Regions from separate parts of the Homo sapiens genome. Here region 2 is linked to region 1. The links are contacts of gene promoters, found by promoter capture Hi-C in blood cells and fetal thymus (Javierre and others, 2016). All regions are on one chromosome and are shown on one strand. The core of a region is centred on a gene start or on the middle of the fragment in contact, and the rest is flanking DNA. Distances in the headings are between cores, read along the strand shown.

Region 1 (3,753 bases), core at 1,236-3,735:
TGTTGCCCAGGATGGAGTGCAGTGGCACGATCTTGGCTCACTGCAACCTTCGCCTCCCGGGTTCATGCCATTCTCCTGCCTCAGCCTCCCGAGTAGCTGGGACTACAGGCGCCCGCCACCACGCCCGGCTAACTTTTTGTATTTTTAGTAGAGGCCGGGTTTCACCATGTTAGCCAGGATGGTTTCGATCTCCTGACCTCGTGATCCGCCCGCCTCGGCCTCCCAAAGTGCTGGGATGACAGGCATGAGCCACTGCGCCCGGCCTTTACTTGCTATTTTCTATACATGAAACATCGGTTGTTTTGTTTTCAACTCATAAAGATGCCTTACAGCTTCTTGTGTAGGGGAGACTGGTTCCCACCACTCAAAGGTGCCAGCATACTCACTGCCAAGCTGCTGCTCCCTTTAAGGAGGGAAGGCAGGGAGGACTTGTAACCACCTGTCACTCTCTGGAAACACTGGCGCTGGAGGTCACTGTGATAAATGCTTAGGAAAGAGACAGTGGACTGCACAGAGTCGTTTTCCTGGAGAGAATGGAGAGTTCACAGGTAGCTGGTTTTGTCCACAAGCGAATGTGAAAATAAAGAGAGCGTCGCATTTGTCAGATATCTTGGGACCAACCTGAAGTGGCTTTCTCCTTTCACTGAGTATGTCAGCAGTGAATTTGGGAGTTAGAGATGTTGCCCTAAGTGGACGAAGTTTGAGGCTTTTCTTGAGGCTGTCTGCCACCGTCCTGTTGGCTAAGTCCCTTTTCTTAACCACATATAGGAAGATGTTAGAGGCTACATTCATTCCAAAAGGTCACAGCCTAGTAACTGATACTACCACTGAAGGAAAACTATCTTTTAAACCTGAGAAACATCTTCAGACTCCATCATGAATGAATCCAAATTGAAAAAAACAAAAGCTGTGCTCACTCTACACCAGTTCCTACATCACTAACTGCCGTGTTAAAGTAATTTAACTGGCACCTAACAGAAATCATCTGCCACTTTGTAAAAGTCATAGACTCATAAGAATCTAGAGCTGGAAGACCGTTAAAGAGCTAGTGATCCAGCCTCCCTCTCATTTCACGGACCAGCAAATCGTGGCCCAGAGAGCCGAGCCCAGCTGTTCCGAAGTCCTCATACGGGATTTTGGTCAGCATTTTGCATGACGGTGATCTGAGGAGACCCGTCATACCTTTCATTTGTAGTAACATAAATGAACTGTATTTCCCACCCCCTACGTTTGTTAGCTGAGGAAGATACAGACCAAAGCAAAATAAAGCTGGTAGTTCCTAAAGGACAGAAGCCAATGATACTGAAATTCCTGTCTTCATCCATGTGATTGGTGCTTGGCACAAATGAAATGTATTCCAATTCATTCAAGTTTAGACGCCTGTCCCGATAACTGTTTTTTTGTTTGTTTGTTTGTTTGTTTTTTGAGACAGAGTCCTGCTCTGTGGCCCAGGCTGGAGTGCAGTGGCGTGATCTCGGCTCACTGCAACCTCTGCCTCCCAGGTTCAAGCGATTCTCCTGCCTCAGCCTCCAGAGTAGCTGGGACTACAGACAGGCACCACCACACCTGGCTAATTTTGTATTTTTAGTAGAGACGGGGTTTCACCGTGGTGGTCAGGCTGGTCTCGAACTCCTGACGTCAAGTGATCTGCCCGCCTCGGCCTCCCCAAGTGCTGGGGTTACAGGCGCGCCCGACCCCGATACTTTTAAATAACGACACGTTGTGAACAACACCACAGTCCCTACGCCTCTGGATGGTGTCTCCGGATAGATCCAAAGCCGAGAGGCAGTAAGAGCCTGCAGCCTCCACAGTCCGCCTCCTGGTGCAGGTGGAGAGGGGCTGCTGGAGGCCCCCGGACCTCACGCTTCCTGAGGGCCACCCCGGAGCGGCTGCAGCCGCTGGCGGCACCGGGAAAAGCATCTCGGCCGTGCGGGGAGAGGCCACATCCTGAGGCCTCCCACCGAGAAGCACCAGGGCTTGGTGGACGGGGCCCGCGAACCCAGGGCCACACGCCGCCTCCCTCCTTCCTTCCCCGCGGGCCTCGCCCCACCCCGGAGGGGGTTCCTACCTGGCTTCCTCGGCCCCGCGCCCACCCCGCCCCTTCGCCCGGGGCCGGCGAGAAGAGCAGGTCGGGGAGGGGCGCGTCCGCTGACGGAACAGAAGCCGGGAGCCGCGGCCCTTCCCGCCTCCGCCTGGGCCCCGCGGCCGCTCGGGAGGGAGCGGCGGACTCGGAACGCGCGCGCGCCGCGGCCCCGGCCACAGCCGCCGCCTCGGTCCCCGCCTCCGCCCCCGCCCACCCGCCCGCCGGGGACGCCGGGGAACCCTCCGGGCCCAGGGACCGCGAGAGACCCCGCCCCGCCCTATCGCAGCCGCCGGGCCTGGTCACGCGCAGAGCCGCGCCGCGGGATCGGGGCCAGCGCCGGGCGGAGGCGGGACGGGGACGGGGGCGGAGGGTTGAAATCGCGCGGCCGGGCCGGGGCGCGCCGAGCCGAACCCAGCCACGCGGCGCCAGCGAGGCGGCCGGACCCGCAGCCCCGATGCTGCTGACGCTGGCCGGGGGCGCGCTCTTCTTCCCGGGGCTCTTCGCGCTCTGCACCTGGGCGCTGCGCCGCTCCCAGCCCGGATGGAGCCGCACCGACTGCGTGATGATCAGCACCAGGTACCGGCGCCGCCGAGACGCCCCCCGAGGCCCGGGGCGCTGCCCACCGCACCCCACCCGGCCGCGGGGCCCAGGGCGGAAAAGGGGGGCGGCAGGAAGCCCGGGGGCTGCTCCCTCCGCGTCCCGGCGGCCCGAGTTTCCGAAGCCCCTCCGCGTCCTCCCCTGGCGGGAGCGGGGCCGGGGCGGGCGGGAATGGCCGATGAGCCTCCGGAGCCCGCTCCCCACATCTGCCTGCGGCTGGGGAGAGTCAGGCCGAAGGGCCGGGCCGGGCTCCCTGCGGTCCTCGGACCGGACTGAGCGCGCGCGCTGTTCTCTCCGCCCGCGCTAGGCTGGTTTCCTCGGTGCACGCCGTGCTGGCCACCGGCTCGGGGATCGTCATCATTCGCTCCTGCGACGACGTGATCACCGGCAGGTAAGAGCCCGGGCCGGGGCCTTGTTGCAAATGTCACATTTCAGTAGCTCGCAGGCTCTGGCTCTCGCAGCACACGCGCTCAGAAAGCTGACTAATGGGAAAAGCTGGCACCACAATGGGCTCCTTCTTCCTCTCCGGAGTCTTCGGGCACCCCCAGCTTAGGAGAAAGTCCACGGAAATGAGGGAGGACGACAGAGTCGGAGTCTGATTTCAGGTGGTGTGAGCCAGGGATCCAGGTCCTTCATGGAAGAGATAAGCGTGGAAGCATTTACGACTGGGAGTGTGGCTTGATTCTTGCAGTTGGCTTCACTGGGTTCTCACTCTGGAGCATCACTGGCTAACAGACGTCCAGTGTGGTTAGCAGAGCCCCCTCCATGGAAAGGAACCAACCCACCACCCCCTTCCACGCAAACGCCGCTCTTGCTTTTCCTGCAGATTTGCTAAAGGTGATTGAGAGGTTCCCAGCGCTTAGAACACGGACTTGTACGTCTATCAGAGGTCAGTCCAGAGGCAGGTCAGGAAATGTGCACCTATCTGCAGTTCCAGTGAAACAAATCATAAATTAAGACCAGAATAGTCGACTTTGTACAGTAGTTAGACCTGGACAATGGTGGTGCTTTTATTATTTCAAGCCTTTTTTTTCCCCACCGGTCTTGCTGGAATCACACTCACTTTCTCCCAA
Region 2 (3,751 bases), core at 962-3,461, 290 kb before region 1:
AAATCTTGTACTTGTAGATTAATACTGTTAAATATAATCACGTCTTAAAATTTCTCAAGATGAGGAGCTGTTTTTCTCATTTTGCGTAAACAAACATAATTCTACTTTAAAAACAGAAGCATCTCTCTAAGTTTTGTTTTTTCAGATAATTTATTGTTAAATGAAGACATCACAAAGCAAAATGGAGTGGGGCAGGTGTCAAAGGTAAACTGAAAACGTCGTGTCTGCCAAACGCTATTCTGGTTTCCTAAGGTTAGAAACAGGAAAAGTGTCAAATGAAAAGGTACTCGCTCAAATTAAGTTTTTTTAAAAGGTCTGTAATTTGAAAGGAAAACAATTTTTCACTAAAAATATCCTTATTACATGAAAGCCATAATTTAAAAGACAGAGAAAAAAGCTTTTTAATTAACAAATAAACAGCATCTCTCAGAGACACTTGGGAATGTTTGTTTTTAATCAGTGGGTCCTAAAAATCACTGCTTCCACCTGCAAACGAACACGAATCCACTGTGGATGGCGTCCTCTGACCCACCCTGAAGGGTTCTGTTTCTCTCCACACACTTCCTTTTCTGCAACTTTCAGCAAAGCAGGTTTGGAAGAAAGAGGATTACAAAGAACTACGACTGGCTCCCTAGTGAATAACTTAACACGGTAAAACCCGGTTTTCCATTTACATTACACATTCACAATCGCTCACTGCTACTTACTTCACTGACGTATTTCACACTCTCTACACACCCAGCATGATTTGTCTGAACTTAACACAGTCCCCCTAAGACAAAAAAAAATATCTCCTAAGGACCTCTGAGAACACAGCGGTGTTCAAAGGCCACGTCCTCGCACACAACACCCAGACCTGCCACGCAGCCGGTACTGTTTCCTGAGCTCATCCGAGCAAGCGTCTCCACGGGGCAAAGCAAGGCCTTGAGGATCCCGCTAACATAACTTACAAATTATTGGGAGGCCGAGGCGGGTGGATCACAAGGTCAGGTGTTCGAGACCAGCCTGGCCAACATGGTGAAACCCCGTCTCTACTAAAAATACAAAAATTAGCTGGGCGTGGTGGTGGGCACCTGTAATCCCAGCTGCTCAGGAGGCTGAGGCAGGAGAGTCGCTTGAGCCTGGGAGGTGAAGGTTGCAGTGAGCTGAGTTGGCGCCATTCCACTCAGCCTGGGCAACAGAGCGAGACTCCATGTCAAAAAAAAAAAAAAAAAAGACATTGACCACTTAAACGACCACAGCATGAAATCAGACAGAAAAATCCATTTTTATCAATAAATGCTGCGTCACTTGCTCTTCCAAACACAGGAAGCATTTTTTGCTCTGCACGTGACTGAGGAGACTGTGGGTCCCAGGGTGGCCCCTCCCTGGGTCCCAGCCGAGCTTCAGCCCGGCAAGCTCAGACCACGGGTGGACTGCAGGCCCCGTCCACAGGGCGTCGATGCATTGGGGCACAGCGGACTGATGCTGTTGTCTGCAGAGGACAGCGTGGCTCTCCAGGACTCCAGCGACTGCGCACGACGGCGATTGTCGCTGCACCTGCTGCTGTGGCTCCGGGGCACCGCGGGGCTCAGTTCAGCTTTCGGCGCAGATGGAGGCCATCGGCAGAAACCCGGAGCTACAGCCGAGCTGAGCTTACAGTGCTCGGTAACCCTCAGGCACTGGAAATAATTTGGATGTGTTCAAGGGGAATATCTAGTTTGTTCTTTCCAATATTGGAAGAAAAAAGTAAAACCATCAGCCACTTTCTTTACTCAAACACCACAGGGATTGGCAGGAGGTCCCAAGAAGGGGTTAGGGGAGGACGGGGTGGCGGGAGGCAGGTCTGAAGCCACCGCACCCTGGTCCACCCCGCTGCTGGGCCACGCCAGCCGAATTCACACGGTCCTTGGGGACATTTCAGTTGACTGTCACCTGCCTCCGTACGGTGGTGTGAGAGGAATGCGCGCCACCACGGCGGCCAGGTTTTGACATCGTTCCCTACTCTGAATGCACCTTAGCTTGTCTGGTGTCGGGGGATGGGGGCACAGATTTCCTCAGCTTTGCCACTTTTTTTTAGAGATGGAGGCTCACTATGTTGCCAGACCGGTCTCGAATTCTTGGGCTCAAGAGATCCTCCTGCCTCAGTTTCCAAGTAGCTGAGACTACAGGCGCCAGCCACCGTGCCCAGCCTTCCTTGCTTTCTGAATTAGACCTAAGGCACTGGCAGAAACCCTCTGCAATTCTGACGCCATCGAGATCCTAAGACTGAGTCAACTCTAGCTCCTCTCATGATGAACCAGGTCATCGCCTGCGTCTGCCTCCTCCGGGTGGCCGCAGGTCTTAGGGCCACCGCTTCCTGTCCTGAGTGTCCACTCCCCACGTGGACTCCCAAAAAGTGTGTTTTCCAAGCACACTCTTAGAATGCTGTTTCTCTCAAAAAAAGGCCGTCCACTCCGTTTTGCCTTATGAAAAAATGGGAAAGTATTCTGAAAGTATTCCAAAAGCCCAAAACACCTATCGGAGACTCACGGAAGCCTGCGGAGACGGTCACCAGATACCAAGGGTTCGAGGCGTTTCTCAGAGCCTGTGCTTGGAACTGACCGTCAGGAAGCAATCGGAGCCGAAGCCGCTGCTCCCAAACCTGGCCGCCCATCGGCCTGGCCTTCCCGGAGCAGGTGGCAACACGGAGAACCTTTTTTTTTAAAAAAAAAAGGCATCTTAAATTGTGGTTTGGGATTTTCTTTTTTTTTTATATCATGAAAAAAGATTTAGAGAATTACAAGAGTTTAGGTTAATAGGAAACACAAATGGAGGTGGAAATTTAAAAACAAAGGAATGGAACTCAACTCTCCACAGATTGAACCCACACAGGTGTCACTGTTTACTGAATTAGCACCACTTTTGTGCAGTGAAGACACCCGTGGCTGAGATTTCTTAAATCTCACTTTTTCCATGCTTTTCTTCTGACAAACTGACCACGGAGGGAGAGCTCTCCTCCCCCCTCCCTATCCCAGACTGCTGCTGCTTTCCTGCAATTCTGGTGGTCTTTTTGTTGCCTCATCTGATTGAGACTTTGGGGAAACAACACAGCAGCAAACCAGGACATATATTCCCTCTAAAAACAGCTTGAAAATTACAACACAAAGATCTCAATAATTATGAGATGCAGTGATTTTTTCTTTTTTTTCTCTTCCCCCGGCCGCGCTTGGAGGTATCTCTAGGTTAGACTCCTCTGGGGCTGGAATGACGTGAAGGGTAAGGTCGCCCAGCTTGGCCAGGGCAGTCGGGGGCAGGACAGCGGGAGAGCCGGTCCGACCCCAGCCCAGCCTGCTGGGTCAGCATTCATCAGAGAGGTCGTCGCTGCCCGGGAGCTCCGCGGCTTCGAGCTCCACGCTGGACAGAAACCTCCTCAGCGTCTTGCGGCAGTTGTAATCCAGGGTGGTGGTGTAGACGGCCTTGGGGTACTTGGGGTACACGATGGTGGTACTGAGGAAGCGGGTGGGCCTGTGGCGTGGCTCGAAGCGCACCTCGGCCTTGTAGTTGCGCCACGTGCCATTGGGGACACAGGTGACCGTCTGGCTGCAGGAGGCCACCGCCAGGCCCAGGGGCAGCTGCACGTCGTCGATGAAGTGCCTCTCGGAGTCGTACTTGACCAAGGAGGTGTACCTGGGCGGGAGACATAAGAGGCCGCGTGAAGCCGCTCCTCTGAGCCGGGGGCTTGGGGTCCCCACTGTGACCGTGAGTCATTTGTGGGGTGCACATGTAGAAA

The links. The method cuts DNA at HindIII sites, captures the fragments that hold promoters and counts their contacts. A CHiCAGO score of 5 or more calls a contact.
Region 2: a contact is called between a fragment that was not itself captured here and the fragment with the promoter of TLCD3A in region 1, in 1 of 17 cell types (neutrophils). The highest score is 6.0, in neutrophils.

What each region holds. Positions count from the first base shown.
Region 1 is chr17:730,111-733,863 of GRCh38, forward strand. TLCD3A (TLC domain containing 3A) reads left to right here and starts at 2,486. Exons shown (of 5, transcript NM_024792.3): 1 at 2,486-2,659; 2 at 2,988-3,071. The coding sequence starts at 2,538. It overlaps LOC124903893 (a long non-coding RNA gene), which reads right to left and starts at 2,270. Exons shown (of 2, transcript XR_007065572.1): 1 at 2,069-2,270. RefSeq lists silencers at 1,963-2,442, 2,463-2,732, 2,803-2,902. The HindIII fragment of the contact is 13,049 bases long and covers 1-3,753 here.
Region 2 is chr17:439,847-443,597 of GRCh38, forward strand. RFLNB (refilin B) reads right to left here. Exons shown (of 2, transcript NM_182705.3): 2 at 132-3,648. The coding sequence ends at 3,318. Among named protein-coding and RNA genes, the nearest start is that of RFLNB, 4.2 kb to the right of the region's middle. The HindIII fragment of the contact is 3,632 bases long and covers 396-3,751 here.